7 separate regions of the Homo sapiens genome follow, and regions 2, 3, 4, 5, 6 and 7 are each linked to region 1. Evidence: promoter capture Hi-C in 16 types of primary human blood cells and fetal thymus (Javierre and others, 2016). All regions are on one chromosome and are shown on one strand. The core of a region is centred on a gene start or on the middle of the fragment in contact, and the rest is flanking DNA. Distances in the headings are between cores, read along the strand shown. Region 1 holds the start of TMEM177 (transmembrane protein 177). Region 2 overlaps LOC105373989 (putative cuticle collagen 91). Region 3 has its middle 25 kb from the start of TMEM185B. Region 4 has its middle 7.9 kb from the start of TMEM185B. Region 5 overlaps RALB (RAS like proto-oncogene B). Region 6 overlaps RALB (RAS like proto-oncogene B). Region 7 has its middle 46 kb from the start of INHBB.

Evidence for each region. Contacts are between HindIII fragments. The CHiCAGO score rates a contact against its expected background, and 5 or more counts as called.
Region 2: a contact is called between a fragment that was not itself captured here and the fragment with the promoter of TMEM177 in region 1, in 1 of 17 cell types (monocytes). The highest score is 5.7, in monocytes.
Region 3: a fragment that was not itself captured here is called in contact with the fragment with the promoter of TMEM177 in region 1 in 2 of 17 cell types (total CD4 T cells and non-activated CD4 T cells); the score reaches 6.6 in total CD4 T cells.
Region 4: a contact is called between a fragment that was not itself captured here and the fragment with the promoter of TMEM177 in region 1, in 8 of 17 cell types (total CD8 T cells, non-activated CD4 T cells, total CD4 T cells and 5 more). The highest score is 13.3, in total CD8 T cells.
Region 5: a fragment that was not itself captured here is called in contact with the fragment with the promoter of TMEM177 in region 1 in 1 of 17 cell types (naive CD8 T cells); the score reaches 7.5 in naive CD8 T cells.
Region 6: a contact is called between a fragment that was not itself captured here and the fragment with the promoter of TMEM177 in region 1, in 9 of 17 cell types (total CD8 T cells, non-activated CD4 T cells, total CD4 T cells and 6 more). The highest score is 12.6, in total CD8 T cells.
Region 7: a contact is called between a fragment that was not itself captured here and the fragment with the promoter of TMEM177 in region 1, in 9 of 17 cell types (activated CD4 T cells, total CD8 T cells, total B cells and 6 more). The highest score is 9.7, in activated CD4 T cells.

The regions. Positions count from the first base shown.
Region 1 is chr2:119,677,745-119,680,982 of GRCh38, reverse strand. It overlaps TMEM177 (transmembrane protein 177), which reads right to left and starts at 1,782. Exons shown (of 2, transcript NM_030577.3): 1 at 1,707-1,782; 2 at 1-151. The coding sequence starts at 129. RefSeq lists a silencer at 1,706-1,935. The HindIII fragment of the contact is 6,463 bases long and covers 1-3,238 here.
Region 2 is chr2:120,329,599-120,332,627 of GRCh38, reverse strand. The region is part of intron 1 of LOC105373989 (putative cuticle collagen 91); the gene reads right to left. Among named protein-coding and RNA genes, the nearest start is that of INHBB, 15 kb to the left of the region's middle. The HindIII fragment of the contact is 6,192 bases long and covers 1-3,029 here.
Region 3 is chr2:120,196,920-120,200,332 of GRCh38, reverse strand. No RefSeq gene overlaps it. Among named protein-coding and RNA genes, the nearest start is that of TMEM185B, 25 kb to the left of the region's middle. The HindIII fragment of the contact is 6,427 bases long and covers 1-3,413 here.
Region 4 is chr2:120,229,644-120,232,998 of GRCh38, reverse strand. No RefSeq gene overlaps it. Among named protein-coding and RNA genes, the nearest start is that of TMEM185B, 7.9 kb to the right of the region's middle. RefSeq lists enhancers at 260-609, 850-1,059, 1,792-1,841. The HindIII fragment of the contact is 1,026 bases long and covers 1,483-2,508 here.
Region 5 is chr2:120,280,618-120,283,995 of GRCh38, reverse strand. All of the region lies in intron 2 of RALB (RAS like proto-oncogene B), which reads right to left. Among named protein-coding and RNA genes, the nearest start is that of RALB, 29 kb to the right of the region's middle. RefSeq lists an enhancer at 1-363. The HindIII fragment of the contact is 1,412 bases long and covers 805-2,216 here.
Region 6 is chr2:120,255,853-120,259,080 of GRCh38, reverse strand. The region is part of intron 1 of RALB (RAS like proto-oncogene B); the gene reads right to left. Among named protein-coding and RNA genes, the nearest start is that of RALB, 4.6 kb to the right of the region's middle. The HindIII fragment of the contact is 628 bases long and covers 1,481-2,108 here.
Region 7 is chr2:120,298,259-120,301,396 of GRCh38, reverse strand. No RefSeq gene overlaps it. Among named protein-coding and RNA genes, the nearest start is that of INHBB, 46 kb to the left of the region's middle. The HindIII fragment of the contact is 2,162 bases long and covers 501-2,662 here.

The sequences.
Region 1 (3,238 bases), core at 533-3,032:
TTGGACCACGGGATCCGGGAAGAGGTGGTACGAGATTGGAACTCCAAACAGGCCTGCACAGGAACCCACCAAGAGGCCTGTCCTGTGTCTCTGCACAAATGCTGCGGTCCGCCACAGGGGACCTGCCATGAGTGTAGTCACTGCGGACAATCTGGGCCAAGAAAAAGAGAAGTCAGCCAGTTTCCCTGGGTCAGCCTGCAGACTGAACATCCTCCAGGGTCCACACCACCTTTTTAAACCAAAGTAACACAGCATAGTGGTGAAGAGTGTGGGCTCTAGAGCCAGAGTGCCTGTGTTCAAATCCCAGCTCCGTCTCTGTGCGTCAATTTCCCCATGTGCCAAACAGGTGTGTCGTAATGGCCCACCTCTAGGGTGGCGGTGATGAGCACATGAATAAACATACATAAAACATTTAGTGTCTGGCACAGCAGCAGATATTCCTTATAATAATGGCTGTAATGACTTTTATTCCCATCGCTGGGCACGGCACTCCAACTGCCTCATTCCACTCATCCCATGGTAAAGCCCTATGATTACTAATTTATAAGGAAAAACGTGTTCAATTTATTGAGTGCTTACTATATGCTAGACTCAGTTCTGAGCACTCTTACCGATTGAACCCTCACAACCCCATGACCTAATTACTACAGCTAACCCTATTTCAAAGCTGTGAAAACTTAAATGGCCAAAATCCTAAGCTAGTGAAGTGACAGTGTTATGGGCTGCACTGTGTCTCCTCCTCCTCCCCAGTTCATATATTTAAGTCCTAACCCCCAGTACCTCAGACTGTGGCTGTATTTGGAGACAGGGTCTTTAAGGAGATAATTAAGATAAAATGAGGCCATCAGTATGGATCCTAATCCAATTTGACTGGTGTACTTATAAGAAGAGATTAGGATGCAAACAGGCACAGCAGGAAGATCATGTGAGGATCCAGGGAAAAGGCTACCACCTACAAGCCAAGAAGGGAGGTCTCAGAAGACACCAACCCTGTTAACACCCTGGTCTTGAACTTCCAGCCTCCATAACTCCCAGAGGACAAATTTCTGCTGGTTGGGCCACCCAGTCTCCGGTACTTCGGCATGGCAGCTCTAGCAAGCTAACACAGGCATAGTCAGGTGTCCACAGCAAACTTTTTGTTTTAGAAAACTTGTTATGCCAAATTACAAGCATATACCAAAGTAGACAAAATAGTACATCCATCAACTTCAATCCCATCAACTCATGGCCAATCTTGTTTGATTTCTCTTTCCACCACACTTCCGTCCAACTGGTTTATTTTGAAACATCCCCGGGCATCCTATCACTTCATCCGTGAATACGTCAGTAAAAATTCACAATTATTTCACTTTGATTGAAACTTACTGTATTCCTGTCCGTGAAAAGTGCTTAATGAGCAACGAATGAGTTGCCGCAAACAAAAACGCAGGGTACCGCTTGGCCTATCTTAATCAAGAACTCCTATAAGAATCATTATCATTCGGGCTTTTTTTTTTTCCCAATGCGGAAAGTGAGGCTAAGAAAGGAAAGGTCTGGACCAAAGTCCAACGTCCCTAGGGCCATCGCGCTGCGGGGTGGGCCTAGAACACAGTACCATGCAGCCCGCCGGTGGCTGGGGGAGGAGGGGCTGCAGGAGCCCCGCAGAGGGGTCCTCGCTACGCTTCCACTCTGGGCCCCTAGGCTACTCCGCAGTCTGAACGCGTTACCGGGTCGCATCAGGCCGGAGAAGGGTCCCTCCCGCTCGTCCGTGCGCTCACCTCCGCCGCCGCTCGGAACGCCTACATGTGCGCGCGGCAGGGCGGCCGCAAAGCACGCCGGCCGGGGATCTGGGGGCGGGGACTTCGGGAGGCGGAGCTCGCCGGCCCCGGATCTTGGGATGGGGACTTCAGGGGGCGGAGCTCGCCGGCCGGAGATCTCGGGGCGAGGATTTCAGGGAGGGGAGCTCGCTCGACGGGTCTGGGGGCGGGACTCTTGGGGGTGTGGCTGGGGGGGCCTCAAGGGGATGTCCGTGGGGGGCTCCGGCCGCCGCAGAGGCTCCTTCTCTAACTGTGCACCTTGGGGTGGGTCCGCTAGCACTTCCTCCTCTGCGTTGAAATGCGTCTTTGATTAATACAAAAATTAGCTGGGCGTGGTGGCGCACGCCTGTAGTCCCCAGCTGCTGGGGAGGCTGAGGCAGGAGAATCGCTTGAACCTGGGAGGCAGAGGTTGCAGTGAGCCGAGAATACGCCACTGCACTCCAACCTGGGCGACAGAGCGAGACTCCGTCACACACACACACACACACACACACCCCGGTGTCTTTGATCATGCCACACACACACACACACACACCCCGGTGTCTTTGATCATGCCACACACACACACACACACACACATACCCTGGTGTCTTTGATCATGACACACACACACACACACACCCACCCCGGTGTCTTTGATCATCACACACACACACACACACACACACACACATCCCGGTGTCTTTGATCATGCCGTTGAACCCCCGAAGGAACGGCAGCCCCGCGTGGGTCACCAGGCGGCCTATGGCAGGGCCCCCATCAGAACCCATGCCCATCTGACTGGCCGGCCCGTGTACTTCTCCGTCTGGAAGCGCTCACCCTTGGCGGGGAGCTCTGAGCTTTATGTTTATTACCATGTTCGCTGCCCCCCAAGCTCCTCCCAGGTGCTTCACACTGTACAGTCCACAGAGCAGCGTGCCATCTGTCATTTCTCCTTTCCAGCTGCTCTGTGAGGTAGATGAGGGATCATCTAATCTGTGCACCAAATCCAGCTCTCCACCTGCTTTTGTAAATAAAGTTTTCTTGGAACACAGCCATGCCCAATCCTTTACAGAGGGTGAAAACAGACTGCCTAGGGTTAAAGCCGGGCTCCACCCCTTACTAGCTGTGTGATAAAATGAGTTGGTGTATATGTAACCTGTGCCTCACGGTTTGTGCCGCCTAGCCATTAGCTATTATTATTAAAGTCTGTTCTGTTTCTGAGCCCCCCCCCCCAATTTTGGCTGCTCAGTTGTTTGTATGTAAATAGTGCAATGTGACCTCAGCCAAAGCCAGAATGTGGGACATTCTACAGGGCAAATGACGTGGTTTATCCAACAAATCAATGGCATAAACAGGGAAGGAGGGGGACTCAAAAGAAAAGAGACTTGAGAGTCATTGCAGTTAAATGCAATATGTGACTTTTATTGGGATCCTGAACCAAATAAACTAACTGTAAAAAA
Region 2 (3,029 bases), core at 15-2,514, 650 kb before region 1:
CCCTCTGGGCTCAGCCGCTAACAAGAGCCATCCCCTGTGTCCCCACGGTGACCGATCAAAGCGCCACCTGTAGCGAGTTATTTAAGGAGAAGAGCTGGGCTTATGGAGGAACCGTGGAAAGATCACAGGCTATCTTCAGAGAAGCTGCTGGTGGAATTCCCAAGTCCTTACTGGGTTTGGGGCTTGATTACCCACTCAGTGCCCAGCTGGTCATCATCATGTTGGCCAACCACCAGAGGGGAAAAAAAATTGCCTCCAAAATTTATCAGCAGCCAGGTCACCACCTTTGCTGTGAGATGAAACTACATCTGAAGAATATTTATTCTGGGGAGCAGAGAAGGGGAACGGCAGAATGGTTCATTTCAAACTTTAGTGGCTTTGTCTGGGTTTTGCTCAATCCCCAGCTAACGGCTAAACTATCTGAACTCCAAACCAAAATAAATACACCTCTGAAGTTAAACAATGTTATTACATCAAGGCTGATGTAATGGTTCCAAACCATGAGAAAATAATATTCCAGCATAATGGGTCCCTCTGTTTAGCCAGAGGAAAGGCTGGGCTTCTGGCTCCTTGTCAACTGGAATTTGGCGTTTTCTATCATTGTTGAGCTGGGTGTGTGTATCTGTGTGTGGGACCTAATTAAAGATGCTTTAGGACTTGTGGTGTGAAAGCGTACAGATAGATTTTAAAATATAATTGAGTGGTACAGAGTAGGTCTCTGGACCAACCCAAAGAAGGGCCCCTGCCTGCCCTCCCCCTTGGGTCCCTCCCAGAATCAGCTTCCCCCAGAGTGACATTGAGGATTTCGATGGCCCCTCCAGGTTCAGGGATGGAAAAAGGTTATGTGGCTTAAAGGCTGTTTCATTGTGAAAGACAACTTCCAAATAAAAGAGAAAGTGGTACCCGCCCCCAGGAACATATCTGCACGTGCTGCTCTGCACCCTCGGGTGTCTCCAGGCAGACGGAAGCTGACTCCCACAGCCGAGCTGAGCTGAGCAGGGCACAGGCTTAACAGGGAACATCCACTGGGTTGACACTGCACCAATGGTGCCTACAGGCGGGCAGCTAGCTCTGCCCCTGGGCTTGAGGGCTTGGTCCCTAGGGCTCTGTTCCCGTGTACACTTTACCAGGGTCAAGTCAGGCAGACAGTGCCTGGAAGACGCGCCCTCTCACCCTCCCCCACCTCGCTGGAGGCTGCCGTAGGAAGACTTTGACATAGGGAGTCCCAGGGTGCCCGGTCAGGTTCACAAGTCAGAGACGTCTGCCAACTAATGAAACTGAGCGCTTCCGATTTCAGGTTCTCCATAGAGTGCAAAAGGCTTTTTGGTTTGGGTTTTATTTTTAACATACCATTCATCAACACCAGCTGTCAACCACATGCAGAACTCACAGCTAGCCTCTGCCCCAGGCCCATGGGCTTCTTAATCAAATCAGGCCGAGGCATGCGTGGGGAACAAACATGCATTGTGTCCTATCTCACTGAATCCTTACCACAAAATTATCATTAATCCCTCTTTGCAGATGAGGAAACAGAGGCTCAGGGAGGTTTAGGAACTGGCCCGGCATTCCTTGTGTGGCATCTGGCAGCGCTACAGACCTCATCTGTTAGATGGGGATGACATCCCGCTCCGCGGAAGCTGTGTTAGTTTGCTAGGGCTGCCCTTACAAAGTAGCACAGACGGGATGGCTCAAACAACAAGATTTATTTTCTCACAGTTCTGGAGGCTGGAAGTCCAAGATCAAGGTGTCGGCACGGTTGATGTCTCCTGCAGCCTCTCTCCTGGGCTTGCAGGTGGCCGTCCTCTCCCTGTGTCTTCACACGGTCTTCCCTTTGTGTGTGTCTGTGTCTTAATCTCCTCTTCTTATAAGGACACCAGTCACACTGGATTAGGGCCCAACCATATGACCTCTTTTTACTTTGATTATCTCTTTAGAAGCCCTATCTCCAAATCTCCAAATACAGTCACCTTCTGAAGTGCTGGGAGTTCAGGCTTGGACATATGAGTTTCGAGGGGACATGGCTCACAGCAGAGGTGCCGGCAGGGTCAGGGGAGATGATGTAGGCTGAGTGCCTGGAGCTGCATGTGCCCCCGGCAGCCTCACTTGGGTCAGGGGTGGGATGGTGTACAGCAGGTTCTAAGAACCATCACCTGTCTTTACTGGGTGCCTGCTCCACTGCAGGCCATGGTGGCTGTGGGATGGCCTGGATAGGAAAGTGCAGCGAAGACCAGCTGTTCCCAACACAGCGGAGCCATTCCAGAGAGCCAGAGCAGGCAGGTGGGGCTCTGCAAATATGTTCAACCCCCCACACCCCTGCCGACAGCACAAGACTGTGCAGGCTCTCCCGGTGCCCTACAACCTTGGGCTGGGACCTCTCTCCGACAGCCAAAGCAACCTGGACACCCTCCAGTTCTCATTTCTCCCCTATCCCCAAGCAGCATGTAGCGGGGGCCAGCAAGAATTTGCTGAATGAGTGAAGAGATGTAAGTTCTGACGGATTCACTCCTCCTGCTCTGCCCTCATTTCTTTCCTACTGAAACTTCATTTCTTCCAGAACAAGAGGCTGGGCTCAGTAGGATTCTGGACTGGACTCACTGTCCACCAGCAGGGCTGGGGCACTTCCCAGTCGGGGCTGCCCCTGGAGTGTCAGGCCCCTGGCAGACAGGGAGCAAGACCTCCCGAAAGCCCCACACACACACTCACACTCTCCATTCTTGGCTCACTCCACCCTTGCAGCGAGGATGGCAGGCTCCTATTTCCCCCAACACACCAGCAGATGTTCAAGAGGGGCATCCAAAACCCCTCGGGAATGAGCAGCAACCAGATCTGAAGTGAGAAAGTGTCAGTGCCTCCCGATGGAGGGGCCTGGAACAAGTTACCCGGGGGAGGCTTCTCTGCAGGTTTTACCACCAGGCCTGACCCTCGGCTGTCTGGATCAGCTTAGGTGTGGTCTCACTTCAAGGCAGGAGGGAGAACTAGATGACCTTTTGGGTCCCTTCCTGCCCTGGGATTTCAGGCAGACATTAACA
Region 3 (3,413 bases), core at 185-2,684, 520 kb before region 1:
AGTGAACATATGCTTTGGGGGAGGATTGCTGAATCATATGGAAATTCTATGTTTAGCTTTTTAGGGAACTGCCAAACTCTTTCCCACACTGGCTGCACCTGCACCATTTTACATTACTACCAGCAATGTATGAGGTTTCCCATTTCTCCATGTCTTCATCAACATTTTCCTTTTTTAAAATGTATAGCGGCTGGGCCTGGTGGCTCACGCCTATAATCCCAGCACTTTGGGAGGCCGAGGTGGGCGGATCATGAGGTCAGGAGATCGAGACCTCATGATGGCCAACATGGTAAAACCCGATCTCTACTAAAATTCAAAAAATTAGCTGGGCCTGGTGGCGCGTGCCTGTAATGCCAGCTATGTGGCAGGCTGAGGCAGGAGAGTCCCTTAAACCTGGGAGGCAGAGGTTGCAGTGAGCTGAGATCACGCCACTGCACTCCAGCCTGGCGACAGAGCAAGACTCCATCTCAAAAATAAAATAAAATAAAATAAATAAAATAAAATAAATAAAATAAAATGTATAGCTATCCTAGTAGATGATGCAGTTGTATTACTGTGGTTTTGACTTGTATTATCCTAATGATTAAGGATATTGACATCTTTTATGTGCTTATTGGCCATTTGCATATCTTCTTTAGAGAAATGTCTATTCAAGACCTTTGCCTGTGTTTTAATTGGATTGTTTATCTTTTTTTGTTGAGCGTTGTTCTTTATGTATTTTGGAGATTCATCTCTTATCAATTATATATTTTGCATATTTTATCCCATCTGTACTTTGTCTTTTAACTTTTCTTGGTAATGTCCGTTCATGTACAAAAGTTTTTAATTTTGATAAAGCCCAATTTTTCTTTGTTGGTGTTGCTCATGCTTTTGGTGTCATATGTAGGAACCCATTGCCAGCTCCAAGGACCTGATTTACCCCTATGCTTTCTTCCAGGTGTTTCAAGTTTAGTTCTTATATTTAGATTGTTGATCCATTGATCAATAATTCTATGAATATTTTATTTACATGATTTTATGAACCATGTAGGGGAGAGGCCAACCTCATTCTTTTTCAAGTGGAAATCCAGTTGTCACAGTACCACTTGTTGAAAAGATAGTTCTTTCACCATTTGGCACTCATGTCAAAAATCAGTCATAGACATATGAGCTTATTTCTGGACTCTCAGTTCCATTGGACCATATATCCTTATGCCAAACCTGTTTTGATTATTGTAGCTTTGTAGTAAGTTCTGACATTGGGAAGTGTGAGTCCGACTTTGTGCTGCCTTTACAGATTGTTTTGGCAACTTCAAGTTTGTGTGTGTGTGTGTGTGTGTGTGTGTGTGTGTTTTAATGCCTTGCGGGGATTTTTTTTTTTTAATGAATTTGAGGATCAGTTTTTCTATTTCTGCAAAAACGCTGTTGGTATTTGAGTAGGATTGCATTGACTCTGTAGATAGCATTGGGTAGTACTGACAACAATATCAAATCTTCCTATGACCATATGATGTCTTTCCATTTCATTAGGTCTTCTTTAATTTCTTTTAGCCATTTTTAAAATTTTTCACTGTGTAAGTTTTCATCTTCTTGGTTAAAGTCATCTTTTGGGTAAAATTTGTTTCTAGGTATTTTATTCTTTTAGATGGTATTATTAAGTACAATTATTTTCTAAATTTCATTTGCAGATTGTTCCTTGCAGATATATAGAACCACAATTGATTTTTGTGTGTTGATCTTGTACCCTTGAACTTTGATGAATTCATTTATTAGTGCTAGTGGCTTTCTTATAGATTCTTTGGGATTTTCTATATATGGGAGTTTTCATCTGCGAATTGAGTTTTACTTCTTCCTCTCCAATTTGGATGCCCTTCATTTCTTTTTCTTGTCTAATTGCTCTGGCAAGAACTTCCAGTACATCGTGGAATAGCAGTGGTAAAGTGCACATCTTTGTTTTGACCCTGATCTTAGAGAAAAATCTTTCAGTCTTTCACCATTGAGTATGATGTTAGCTCTAGGTATTTCATATATGGCTTTTGCCATGTTGAAGAAGTTTCCATATACTTCTCGTTTTCTGAGTGGGTTTTTTTGTTTGTTTGCTTGTTTGGTTGGTTGGTTGGTTTTTTGAGACACAGTCTCACTCTGTTGCCCAGGCTGGAGTGCAGTGTCGTGGTCTCAGATCACTGCAACTGCTACCTCCAAGTTCAAGGAATTCTCATGCCTCAGGCTCCCAAGAAGCTGGAATTACAGGCATGTGCCACCATGCATGGCTAATTTTTGTATTTTTAGTAGAGACGGGGTTTCACCATGTTGGCCAGGCCGGTCTCGAACTTCTGACCTCAAGTGATCTGCCCGCCTTGGCCTCCTAAAGTGCTGGGATTACAGGCATGAGCCACCGTGCCTGGACTTCTAAGTGTTTTTATCATGAAACAGTGTTAGCTTTTGTCAAAGGCCATTTCTGTGTCAATTGAGATGATTCTGTGATTTTTTTTTTCATTCTACTAATGTGATGTATTATTTTGATTAAGTTTCTGATGTTGAACCACCCTTGCATTCTTGGATAAATTCCACTTAGTCATTGTGTGTGATCATTTTAATATGCTGTTGGATTCAGTTTCTAATATTTCTTTTTTTTTTTTTTTTTGAGACAGAGTCTTGCTCTGTCACCCAGGCTGGAGTGCAATGGTGTGATCTCGGCTCACTGCAACCTCCGCCTCCTGGGTTTAAGCGATTCTCCTGCCTCAGCCTCCCAAGTAGCTGGGACTACAGGCGTGCGCCACCATGCCCGGCTAATTTTTGTATTTTTAGTAGGGACGGGATTTCACCGTGTTAGCCAAGATGGTCTCGATCTCTTGACCTCATGATCTGCCCGCCTTGGCCTCCCAAAGTGCTGGGATTACAGGCATGAGCCACCGTGCTCAGCTTCAGTTTGCTAATATTCATATGAGGATTTCTGTATCTATATTCTTAAGGGATATTGGTCTGTAATTTTCTTATGATTTTCTTTATCTGATTCTGGTATCAGGGCAATGTTGGCCTCATAGAATGAATTAGGAAGTATTCCCTCCTCTTCTATTTTTTTGGAAGATTTTAGAAGGACTGGTGTTAATTCTTCTTTAAATGTTTGATAGAATTCAGCAGTGACACCATCTGATCCTAGACTTTTCTTTGTTCTTTTCTTTATTGTTTCAATCTCCTATTAGTTATAGATCTATCCAGATTATCCAGGATTTTCTTCATGATACACTTTTGAGGAGTTGTGTGTTTCTAGGATTTTATCCATTTCATCTAGGTTATCCAGTTTGTTGGCATACAATTGTTCGTAGCATTCTCTTATAATCCTTTGTTTAATTAGGTTGGTAGTAATAGAACTGTTACTGTTCCCACTTTCATTTCTGATTTCAGTTATTTGTGTCTTCTCTCATTTTTACTAA
Region 4 (3,355 bases), core at 746-3,245, 550 kb before region 1:
CTCAACTAATTTTTGTATTTTTAGTAGAGACGGGGTTTCACCATGTTGGCCAGGCTGGTCTCGAACTCCTGACCTCAGGTGATCCACCCACCTTGGCCTCCCAAAGTGCTGGGATTATAGGCATGAGCCACTGTGCCAGGCTCTTACTGAGCTTTTTAAAGCACCCACTCAGAAACCATCAGGGAGAACCTCTTTCTTCAACCCCCCTGCTCTGTAAGAGCACTCAGAGCTCAAGAGATGACCTGTCTTCACGGGGGAAATCTAGTAACGCTGGATATGCAATAGGAATTCACTATATGAACAGCAATTCACCACACCAAATACCCCCCAGATAAAGCTGGGAAAGTTATGGCTGTTTGGGGTAATCTGGAAAGAACCTCAGTGACAGTAAATAATTTTTGTTTGTACCAGAGAAAAATCTAAAACCAGCAGGAACTCCGAGGAGTTTCATTTTCTTTCTTAGGTGGAAAGCAGCCACATGAGAAGGGTTGGCTTGTCAAGGTTTCAAGCCTGTCACGGATCTCCAGCCTCGGAGGCATATTTTCAGTTTCGATTCAGCTGATAGGTGGGGAGAAAGCACCCCAGTTCTTGGAAGTTAGCCGTTTCTCCTCCTCGCAGACAACCTCCAGAGCAGGGCAGCAGGCAGCTGCTAGAGATTTATTTCTCCACTTAGTCGTCTCCGCTTGCGGCTTCCTCCCATGAGTGAGGACCAAGAGAAGCCCCCTGTCTCTGATGAAAGTGGGGGATGAACACTGAACCAAACCCACACTGCTCAGCACATTTGATGCGGCCAGAAACAGACTGCAAAGGCTGAGAAAGCTTTTCAGGGGCCGTCTGGCTGTGTGGGTGCGAAGACCTGGCTGTACTTGGAATCACCTGGGAAGACTTACAAAAATGGTTTCCGAGCCTCACCCGCAAGGATTCTGACTTGGTGAGTCTGAATCACCAAGATTCTCGGGGTGAGGCCCCAGAATCTGCCTGTATGTAGCCAGCAATGCTGCATTTGGACCTGCATCTGGGGACCTCTGGGCCACCCTGGCCCCCTTAATTTATAAAGCAGAACCAGCCCCAGGGTGGAGAATGAATGAGGTGCCTGTCACCTGGTTACACAATTTAAGGTGTCCTTAGTTATGCCCAGCTGACTCGAGCACAGATCTTCCTGGGCACTCTCTTCTACACCAGCACAGGGTGGGGCGTGGGAGGGGAGTACGTGCCCATGCGGGCATCTACTGAATGTGCCAGGCCTGTATCTCTATTATCTCACCTCTATCCTGTGAAGTAGATATTATTATCCCCATTGTACAGATGAGAAAACCTAGACTCAGAGAGGCTGAGCCATTTGGTCAAGGACACACAGCTGCTGAAATGACAAGGCCAAGTTTGAACCCAGGTGGTCCCTTCTTTGGCCCATGCTTAACTACACCAGGGCACCCTCTTGATAGTGGTCTCCTTGGGGTTCTGTTGCAGCTCAGAGCACAAGCTTCTCCCTGATCGCTGCCCTATAGCTTATTTCCAATGTTTTTTTTTTTTTTTTTCTGGTTTTTAGTTGACTTTTCATCATATTCAGCCCAGTGACCTCTGGTCCTCTCTTGGGCTCTTTCAGCGTTATTCGGTGTTTTGTGTTTGTGCACCTTAACTGCGTGGAAAAGTGCTCGGTCCTTGGGAACAAGGGCCACAGGGCATTGCTTCCTTCCCCAGGGCCTGGCACCTACCGGGCACTAGCAGGCAGTCTGGCCATAGTAGCTGAGTGATGAGTGAACTGCTTGGAGGCTGTGCATGTTGCCCAGACTCTTTTAGGTCTATCTCCCCTAAAGGCATCTGTGAAAACACATAAAGCAACACCCTGAGGCAGCAACGGCTCCAGTCTGGGAGTCTGAGGAGCAGAAAGAAGCTGAGGTGGCCATAGGAGCCCCATGGGCAGTGAGGTGAGGCCAGGGAGATGGGCCACGGCCGGTCAGCCAGGGCCTTGAAGGGCACGGTAAAGCGTATGGATTTTGTCCTGAGAAACGAGAAGTCAGCTTTGACAGGGGAGGGCCATGCTCCTGTGGCCCGAGTCATCAGGCCGTGCTGCCTGCTATACTGCTGGATGCCCCTTTAAGTCAGGAGCCCCACACTGTTCATGGGGTAACTCCAGGGCCTGGCTCTCAGTGGCGTGCAGAGGCATTTATTTTATTTTACTTTTTTGCTGCTTTGCACCTGGCAATGGAAGAATGAAAGGCAACCCAGAGTGAAATTAGGATTACAATTTTACAAACGTCTGTTTCTGACGCAGGAAGCACATCATTTGTCCACATCACACTCTCTTGGAATTTATGACAAAGCCAGGTGAGAGCCGGGCTGGGAATGACCTTTGTCCAAGAAAAAAATGTTTTGCTGAGTAAATTAAGAGTGCAAATAAGACTGGGGAAAAAACTTAAATTGTACATGAAAACTTTTGAAAATATTTTAGTAATGTCAACTTAAGTACAATTGATACCTGGATTGCCTAATTCCATAATTCAGGAAGCTTCCCACTCACCTCCACAAAATATTAGTTTGAATTAATTATATTTAATTATATGTGAATGCCTCAAATTAAATGATCCCAATGCTCACTGTGTTGTTCATAACATTTGAAGGCTGTGATCTGACGCGGAAAACCCTGACTTCTGCATTTGCACACTCACAAACATGTCAACACTAGCCCTGTTTTTAGTTGACTTTTAATATTATACAGCCCTATACTTGAGTCTACCTTTGATTTCAGCCTCTTTAATTCTTCAACCCTGTGGAGTTTTCTAAATAAGCTCTGCCAGCTGCTATCAATACAAGCAGACTCACACCACAACTCGGGGTGGCACTGACTCCATTTCCTCAAAGATAACACAGAAAACAGAATAAAAGGCTGGGCACAGTGGCTCACGCCTGGAATCCCAGCACTTTGGGAGGCCAAGGCTGACAGATGACCTGAGGTCAGGAGTTTGAGACCAACCTGGCTAAGATGGTGAAACCCCATCTCTACTAAAAATACAAAAATTAGCTAGGCATAGTGGTGCACCTGTACCACCCAGCTACTCAGGAGGCTGAGGCAGGAGAATTGCTTGAACTCAGGAAGTGGAGATTGCAGTGAGCCGAGATCAGTCCACTGCACTCCAGCCTGGGTGACAGAGTGACTCCATCTAAAAAAAAAAAAAAAAAAAAAAAGGAAAAAAAAAGACACACTAGGCTTTATGTGTCAAGGGTCTTTAGAATGAAGTTGTCCCCCCTTATCCATAGGGGATATGTTCCAAGACCCCCAGTAGATGCCCAAAGCCGCAGATAGTACCAAACCCCTATACACACTATGTATTTCCCTGTGCATACACACCTACGATAG
Region 5 (3,378 bases), core at 261-2,760, 600 kb before region 1:
CAGAGTTCCACTGGCTCCTTTGACACAGAAGTCAGAATGTCCTGCTGTACCTACATACCTCTGTACTCAATGAAAAGTATGCTGATTACCCCAACATTCCATTACAACCCTGATGTTTATTTACATTGCTCAGCTGGAAACAGAAAATCACAAAGTCTTTGTATCCATTAGCGTGAACCATACGTATCCCCTACTGGCCTTGCAGAGCTCTGCATGGCTCAGTTTCAGATGCCCAAGAGTCTAAGACAAACTTCACGTGGACCCTTTCTTTCTAAGCTGACTTTCCTCTAAGCTGCCAGAGACTGAAAGTCTGAAACGGTTGCTGCCAAAGCCTCTCCATCCCCAACCTTACTCTCCCAAAAAAGGCAAAAACGAGTATGTTAGGCCGAGCATAAGGAGCTTAAAATCTGACTGCTGCCACCCTGGCAGCTCCCTCCAATTTTTCTCAAAGTCAGAACTTAGACAAGAATAAAGACTCTGGGACTATGGCTCCTTCCATAATCTAATCTTCATGAAAATTCCATCACATAAGCTAAACAATTTTAAATAAGGGTTAAGCATGCACTATGAACAAAGAGTCTGAATGGTGCAGGAGACTTTAGACCAGGGGTGTCCAATCTTTCGGCTTCCCTGGGCCACATCGGAAAAACTGTCTTGGGCCACGCATAAAATACACTAACACTAACGATACCTGATGAGCTAAAAAAATATATTGCAAAAAGAATCTCTGAATGTTTTAAGAAAGTCTACAAATCTGTGTTGGGCCACATTCAAAGTCATCCTGAGCCACAGGTTGGACAAGCTTGATTTAGACAGCCGGCCTCCCTGAACACAGAGCTCAATTTCCTGACTAGATGATCTCTCAGGCAGGAGCTGCCACACCTGGCCACGCGGCAGAACCACCAGAAGAGCACCACTGAAAGAGTCCCAGTTCTCCAACTCCACCAATATTATTCAGGAGGTGTTTTTTTTTTTTAAAGTCTCCCAGGAAATTCTATAATCAGCTAGGTTTGACAATTACTGCTAAGGTCTCTTCGAGCTAAAAAATTATGATTCTAGAACCATTCTGTCCAATATAGTAGCCACCAGCCACATTTCAAATGCACAATAGCCACTTGTATTGGACAGTATAGATACAGAACATTTTCATCATCATGGAAGTTTCTATTAGCACCGTTTTAGAAAATCGATTAGAACTCCTCCCCCAAACATACATCACTTCATTTCTATTCCTTCCTTGCCCCAATTTTATTTTACAATTTCTTCAATAACTGCCACTTTCCAGTTCTCAAGTATGTTAGCCCATGAGAAAAACAGACTAAGGCCAGGCACAGCTTTCCCTGGTCTCTGTGAAGAGAACAGAAAGAAGAGAAAAAACTCTCGAATCTTCTGCATGCATCTGCCCCCTCCTCTTACCCACCCCCGCCCCCCTCCCCAACACACACACACCCAGAAACCTCCAGACCAGGCTCTCCTAGTCTCCTCAGCAGTGCTAGCTCTGTTATCTTTTTTTTTTTGAGATGGAGTTTCGCTCTTGTTCCCCAGGCTGGAATGCAATGGTGCGATCTTGGCTCACTGCAACCTCCATCTCCCAGGTTCAAGCGATTCTCCTGCCTCAGCCTCCCAAGTAGCTGGGATTACAGGTATGCACCACCACACCAGGCTAATTTTGTAATTTTAGTAGAGATGGGTTTTCTCCATGTTGGTCAGGCTGGTCTTGAACTCCTGACCTCAGGTGATCTGCCCGCCTCGGCCTCCCAAAGTGCTGAGATTACAGGCGTGAGCCACCGCGCCCGGCCCCAGCTCTGTATCTGAACTTGCTCTTGGAACTGGCAACCCAGGGCCTCTCAATCACTAACACTGTAGGGGAATCTTCTCTCCTTGGATCTGCCACGGCTCTGCCTCTAATGCAGGTTTCTCAACAGTGGCATTGTGGATATTTTGTGCTGGCTAATACTTTGTTCGGGGCTGTCCTGTGTGATGTAGGATGCTGAGTGCGTCCTTGGCCTCCACGCACTAGATGCTGGTAGCATCTTCCCCCAAGCTGTGATGGCCAAAAATGTCTCCAGGCACTTACGAATATTCCCTGGGGAAGCAAAATCCCCCTCTCTCACCTCTGTTAACAACTACTTCCCTAATCCTATCTCCCTAATCCTAATTCCCCTACTCACCACCCCCTCTCTTCCCCAACCTCTGTTATAGGGGAGAAAAAAGCTTTCGTAAGCAAATTATAAGTTTTTGAGCAAAAACAAACAAAAGACCTACAAAGCAGATGCAGATCTCCCAACCTGCTTCTCTTATGCAAAAACGTTTTGGGGAAATTCAGCAGATTACATTAGATTTATCCAGTTTGACCCCCCAGAATAAGATAAAGAAAAGCAGGTACCAAACACAAAAGTGTCTCATTATAAGACATGGGGAGCATGACCCAGGAGGATAACCAGGTTTGGGTTTGAAGCTTATTCATTATGGGGGCCCTTCCTTAAGATACAAAATTACACACGTAATACTGGACATTAAAGTAAATGTTGACATTGAATGAGAAATCATAATCCATTATAAAGTTTTAAAGATGAGTACTCCAGCGATCTCACCCCCGGGTGACTCTCAGTGAGGCGAAGGGAATACCCCCATGTTTCCATTTCATTTTATAAGACCGTCTAGGCTGGCTGGAGACTGTCCTGCCGGCCTTGGAGAAGCAAGCCACTGTGGTATGAGCTGCCTATGGAGACGGCACATGGCAGGGGCCTGCGGGCAACTTGTAGAATCCGAGCACCTGTGTCCTACACCCACAAGGAACTAAATTCTACCAACAATTAGGGAGCCTGGAAGAGGACCCCCACGCCTCAGAAGAGGTCACAGCCCCAGCTGACACCTTGAGTGGAGTCTTGTGGGACTCTGAGCAGAGGACTCAGCTGAGGCTCCAATTCTGGACCCATGGAAACTATGGAATGACAAATGTATGTTGTTTTAACCTGCTAACTTTGTGATTATTATACAGTAATAAAAAAAACTAATACAAACAGCACTGACATCACAAAATCCAGCAAAATAACAATATTTTTATTAATTAAACTGCCTGACATACCTCTAGAATACCTTCTACTTTTTTGTTTGCTGTATACTTTTTCTTGTCATATGCCAATGATTTTGAAACATTCCTATAGAGAATAAAAAATAATTTAGTCTTTCCTTTAGCATGGTTAATGAAAATGTCTTTTGTTCTGACAGCTTAGAAGAGGTTCTTTCAGCTTCACAACTACATGAGTTTTTTTTTTTTTCTTTTTACTTTAAGTTCTGGGATACATGTGCAGAACATGCAGGTTATGTAGGTATACATGTGCCATGGTGGTTTGCTGCACCTATCGACCCATCATC
Region 6 (3,228 bases), core at 545-3,044, 580 kb before region 1:
CGAGCCCAGCAAGACCACGAGCCCACCGGGAGGAACGAACAACTCCAGACGCGCTACCTTAAGAGCTGTAACACTCACCGCGAAGGTCTGCAGCTTCACTCCTGAGCCAGCGAGACCACGAACCCACCAGAAGGAAGAAACTCCGAACACATCTGAACATCAGAAGGGACAGACTCCAGACGTGCCACCTTAAGAGCTGTAACACTCACCGCGAGGGTCCGCGGCTTCATTCTTGAAGTCAGTGAGCCCAAGAACCCACCAATTCCGGACACGCTAGTATCCGTATCGTTACCAAAGCCAGGGACCTGGAAGTCATTTTTGACTCCCATTGCCTCTCCCCAGCTCAATTCATGACCATTTCTAGCTATTCCATCTCCAACATACATTTCAAAGCCATGCACTTCTTCCATCTTCTCTGCCACCATTCATTCAACAGCCCCAGCTTCCTAAGTGACCCCTCATTACCACTCCAGCCCCTCTTCAATCTGTTCTCCACACAGCCCTTCCAATGGGGCTTCTAACACTGCACATGAAACTGTGCTTAACGCTCCTTAAAGGCTCACCATGAGCGGCAGCTAAACCCTCCACTGGCCGTGGCCTCCGTGGCCTTTTCCTTGCCTTCTTCCAGCCCTGTGAATGTGCCAAGCGCTTTCCTACCTAGGACTCCTCCACACTCCCCCACCCCCAATCACGCGTGCCTGCACACACACACACTGCATTCAGGAAGGCCTGAAGCAAGAGGAAGCAAAGTCCACTCAAGAAACTCGAGAAAGACCTTCACAGCTATCTGCAGCAGAGAGAAAGAGGCAGAGCCCAGTACAAGATGACACTGAGGAGGTAAGGAAGGGCGGGATCATTCAAGACCCCAGTGTAGGCCAAGTTGAGGGATTTGGGACCTTTGACTGAAAGCACTGGAAAGCCACTGAAGTGTTTCAAGTCAATGGGTAACATAATTAGGCTTGAATGTTGAAAAGGTAATTCTGGCTACAGAGTAGAAAAACAGAGGGGTCAAGAGCAGATGTGGGTATGCACCAGGCCAGGCCGGCAACACGGTGGGGACTAAGGAGACAACAATGCACATGAGGAAAGTGACTAAATTTTAGGGCTACTTAGGATGTTAAAAAATGGCAGTGTTTACTACATGAACACATATAATTTGAGATTTTTAAAAGGTTTGCCATGCAAGTATTACTAGAGGTAACACATTGGCTAAAATTCATTCCTAACAATAGCATCAGCTATCAGCAGTAAAGGACTGGCCACCAATCCTTCCTGTGGGAGGAAGGAGGGGGATTACAAGGAAAGTAGAATGAAAGAAAAGAAAGATACTAGCTCATAAATTAGGGCAGAGGATGGGCAAGGGGCCAAAAATAGGAAGCAGAGGAAGTGCAAATAGTGCTGACTTTTCAACTCTGCCTAACAGTGACTCTAACAACCTTCAACTGGATTGGGAAGAACAAAAGCTATTCTCAGAAAAGCTTGTCTTCTGAGGTTGCAATTTAACATGATCAATGAAATATTTTGTTATAAATATGCACAACTCAAAGGATATTCGTTATAAAAAAAAAATAAGGATCATAGAATTTTCAGAGATGGAAGGGACTTAGAGGTCATTTAGCCAGGCTCAGGCTCAGGATCCAGAAACTCTTCTCTCCACCTATAGGCACTTCAGGAAGATTTCATCTGGAGCTAAAAGAATAGCGCCCTTCTATCCAGGTCAATAATTAAAATGTATGAGGGTCTCAAAAGTGAACTGAAGAACTGCTAGGCAAACAAGCAGTATCCAAAGTTTTAAAATAATGGGGAGGAGTAAGAGGGTTTAGGTTCCCCAAAATTTTTCAGCTACTTTGCCAATGAGTTTTATTTTTAAGAACACACAGATAATGAATGACTAATTTTAAGCCATTCATCAAAGGAGATTACTTTGGCAATATTTTTTTACCAACTTGTTTTGGGGTTAAAGAAAAAAATTCAGATGTTCCTTTTGGTTTAGGGACCAGCAAGATCTGAATTTCTATTTCCAAAGCTACTGCATACTTGGCTAATTCCAGCATCTAACAAAGAACCGGAAGAAAGAACATAAAAGTTTCACATATAGTATTAAAGCTTCTACAATACTAAAGACCTCAGCTGTCTTTCCATCTCCTACAGTATACTTCAGTAAACATCTGAAAGAAAGATTTTCTCAATGATGTCTGGACTAAACCTTAAAAAAGTTGTGGTGGCTAGCCTCCAAGAATACTGATGTGCCCTGACCTCCCCTCTTGTAGTCCTTTCCCACATTGTGCCAGGTCTGGTCTGAATGCTGGTAGAAGGGATGGTATGCCATCTCCAAGATTAGACACTGGATTAGTCTGTTCTCATGCTGCTATGAAGAAATATCCGAGACTGGGTAATTTATAAAGGAAAGGGGTTTAATTGACTCACAGTTCCGCAGGGCTGGGGAGGCCTCAGGAAACTTACAATCATGGCAGAAGGAACCACTTCACAGGGCAGCAGGAGAGAGAATGAGTGCCAGCAGGGGAAATGCCAGACGCTTGTAAAACCATCAGATCACGTGAGAACTCACTATCAGGAGAACAGTATGGGAGAAACTGCCCTCATGATTCAATTACCTCCCACCGAGTCCCTCCCACAACGTATGGGGATTATGGGGATTACAATTCAAGGTGAGATTTGGGTAGGGACACAGCCAAACCATATCAGCCACGAATATACTGCTGCTTCCATCTTGATCATTATCATATTCATTCTCTCCCTCTCTCCCCACCCCCGTCAGATCACTTGCTCTGGGGAGAAAAGCTATGTTGTGAAAAGCCCTGTGCATAGGCCCACATGGTGTAGAACTGAGGCCTCCAGCCAACAGCCATGTGAACGTGCCATTTTGGAAACAGATCCTCTGGTCCCAGTCGAGCTTCAGATGACTGCAACCTCAGGAGAGACCATGAGCCAGAAGCACCCAGCCAAGCTGTCCCCAGATTTCAACTTCAGAAACTGTGTGAGATCATAAATGTCTGTTGTTTTAAGCTGCTAAGTTTGGGGAAATTTGTTATGCAGCAACAGAAAACTCATTCAAAAGGTAGGCAAACTTTACAGGCAGCCAGGCACGCAGGACCAAACTACTATATTTCCTTCATCTCATGCCGTATAGCTTGGAACAATGCTATATATAAAAAATGCCCACAAAGCACTGACAAAAGCAACAATGAAAACAATATATTGGTAATT
Region 7 (3,138 bases), core at 332-2,831, 620 kb before region 1:
TCGCCACATAAATCAGATTTTAGGAAAACTTTCCCAGCTGCAACTACTGAAAATACACAAGAAGTAACTGATGACTTAGCCCATAAGAAGTTAACCAGCTCATCCCTTTGATTCCTGTGCAACACTCACCTTGAGATGTTTTTAACTACTAGAAATAAGTAAGCTTGGTTTGTTGTTGTTGTTGTTGTTGTTGTTGTTGTTGTTGTTTTGAGACAGAGTCTGGCTCTGACGCCCAGGCTGGAGTGCAGTGGCGCAATCTCAGCTCACTGCAAGCTCCGCCTCCCGGGTTCACACCATTCTCCTGCCTCAGCCTCCTGAGTAGCTGGGACTACAGGCGCCCGCCACCACGCCCGGCTAATTTTTTTTTGTATTTTTAGTAGAGACGGGGTTTCACTGTGTTAGCCAGGATGGTCTCGATCGCCTGACCTCATGATCCACCCGCCTCAGCCTCCCAAAGTGCTGGGATTACAGGTGTGAGCCACCGCGCCCAGCCGTAAGCTTGTTTTAACATGTGAAGTTGATGGACACTAACTTTCCCAAGGATTCCGGAACTTGAAAACTGTTTAGGTATCTGGTCCTTCTTCACTGCCACCTGAGAAGGCTTGTGGAGGCTGCACTGCGGAGAAGCAGCTTCACACTCCTGGCAGCTGGGGGCTCCGTTCCTGCTCCCAGGCCGCAGCACCTTCACCAACCTGGGTGGGAGGCCGAATCCTCAGCTTAGCCAGGTTTCTGTGCTTCTCAGACACGACCAGAGGCCCCATTCCGACTTGAGCTACGTGTGTGGCAATGAATCATCCTGACAGTACTGTCAGTGTGACTGAACACGTCTAGCTTGGTGGCACACAACTGAACAAGTAGAAATGAACAGCAAGCTGCGGTGTGTCAGGACAAGCTCTAGCACTTGAATTAGACAAAGGCTGGGGCGGAAGGGTGTTGGAGGAAGTCTCTTTTTTCATTCATATCTACTCAAATAGAGAAGAACAGCCTTAAACCCAAGGGCCCAAATTAGTTTTAAAACTTGTACTACATCCTTTCTAAAAAGTCCTCAAAGCGGGCCTCGTGTAGCAACTTACAAAAGGAAATCAGGAAGTCTGCACTGACAATATGCATTTTAAAAAGCAGCATCACCAAGGAGCAGGTAACTCACCAACTGCAGCTGGCAAGCAGGATCGTCCCAAACCTGAGAACAAAAAATCTACAAAACCGCTAACAGCACAGGTAAATTAACTTAGATTTGTTGACCATATAAAAACAAGAGAACATCCCAAGTCAGCTACATTTCAAAAAAGATAAGACAAAGGATGTACTACTCCACACGGGCAGTTCAGGTTGTTACCTGCACAGGTAATAAACTGATCACCAAGAGGTAAAAGCAAAACATATAAGTGAAATCAACACAGGCTTAGTGAAAACTCACAATTCCCTCACTTGAAAGTTGGTATCAGAAGACAACTGACCAGGCCGGTCATGGTGGCTCACACCTGTAATCCCAGCGCTTTGGGAGGCCAAGGCAGGCAGAACGCTTTAGCCCAGGAGTTCAAGACCAGTCTGGCAACATAGCAAGACCCCATCTCTGCAAAAGCATTTAAAAATTAGCCAGGCATGGTGGCGTGCATCTGTATTCCCAGCTACTGTGGAGACTGAGACGGAAGGATTGCTTGAGCCCAGGAGTTCAAGACTGCAGTGAGTCATGATTGCACTACTGCATTCCACCGTGGGTGGCCAAGCAGGACCCTGTCTCAAAAATTAAATAAAGACAACTGGCCAGACCCAGGTCTGACCCCAAATGCTGAGGTCCATACTCCTGGAGAACAGAGATTGCCATAGGCCCTCAAGTTCAAAATGACCCCTGCATAAAGTCAAATCAATGTGTTCACTCTAATCTTTATTTAACATTGATCTGCAAAAAAAGGAAATTTTAAGTATTTGTGACAATGAAACCAGGGCAAAATGGAAAGCTGAGCCCAAAAGTTAGTCTCCCCTGAAGCCTCTCTTCAAATAATAGTATTTAAAAAACCCAAAGGGCAAAGAGAATGGAAGGGTCACTAGCTGATGTGTGAATCTGACAAATTTACAGAAGCTGAAACCCAGACGTGAGCCGTTCGATAAGGAAGGATCTGTTGAGATGAGGGCAACAGGACCGGCTCAGTCTGAACCGGCAGATGGAGCAGCAGAACCACGGTGCGTGGCTAGAGAGCCTAGGTAGAGGTCTGTGTGGGACACGGTCCACCCCACCCCTGCAGGCAGCTCTGTCCATCACCAGTGCTTTTCTCTTGGAAGAAACTGCCTGGAGTGAACCAAGGCATCCAGCCTGGCCAATGGCCCCCAGAGCACACCTTCCCTCGATTAGGCATTAGGGGTTCCCAGCACTATGACTGGTTTTCTACCCATTCACCCCAAAGTCAAGCCTGCTATTTCACAAGCCCCACTCATGTACATGGAACTCCTGGCCGACTTTCTATTTCCTCCTAAGAATATGGCTGGACAAGCAGGAATCATTAGATACGTGAGAAAAACTGCAGCTTAAAAAATAAAGAAGAAAAAGTGAATAAAAATACAACTTTCAAAAGATCTAATATCCTTCAAAAGTCAAGATATTGAATCCGTAAGGCCGCCAAGAACAGTTGCTATGAAAAAGGAACAAATAAAGACAAAGAAAGCTTTTGTTCACACATACACACGGTGAGCAAGTGAGAAGACAAAGTTGATCCCACTAGTGTAAGCTTCCAAAGGGCAAGGAATTTGTCTGTTTTGCTCACTGCTCTATCTCAAGAACTTACAACAGTGCTTGGCAAAGTGCTTGGAAAAACACAGGGAGGGAGGATAAATTTGAGAGAAAATAAAGATGGAAAATATAGGAAATGGATGGAGCAGACATGAATCTAGGAGGTTCCAAAGGTGGTAACAGGAGCTCTGGAAGGAGAAAACAGAAGCGATCAAAGAATTTCAAAAATACTTTTTCTAGAGCTGAAGAGGCAGGAGTCTTCATTGGAAGCCTCTGCCGACTACCAAGCAGGATGAGTCACAAAACAGCCACACTTAAGATCCACAGCTGTGTTCATTTCAGACCCTGCAGATAAGGAGAAGGCCCCGATAACGGGAGAGAGGGAAAAGCCAGGGCCCCCACTGCAAAGGGAC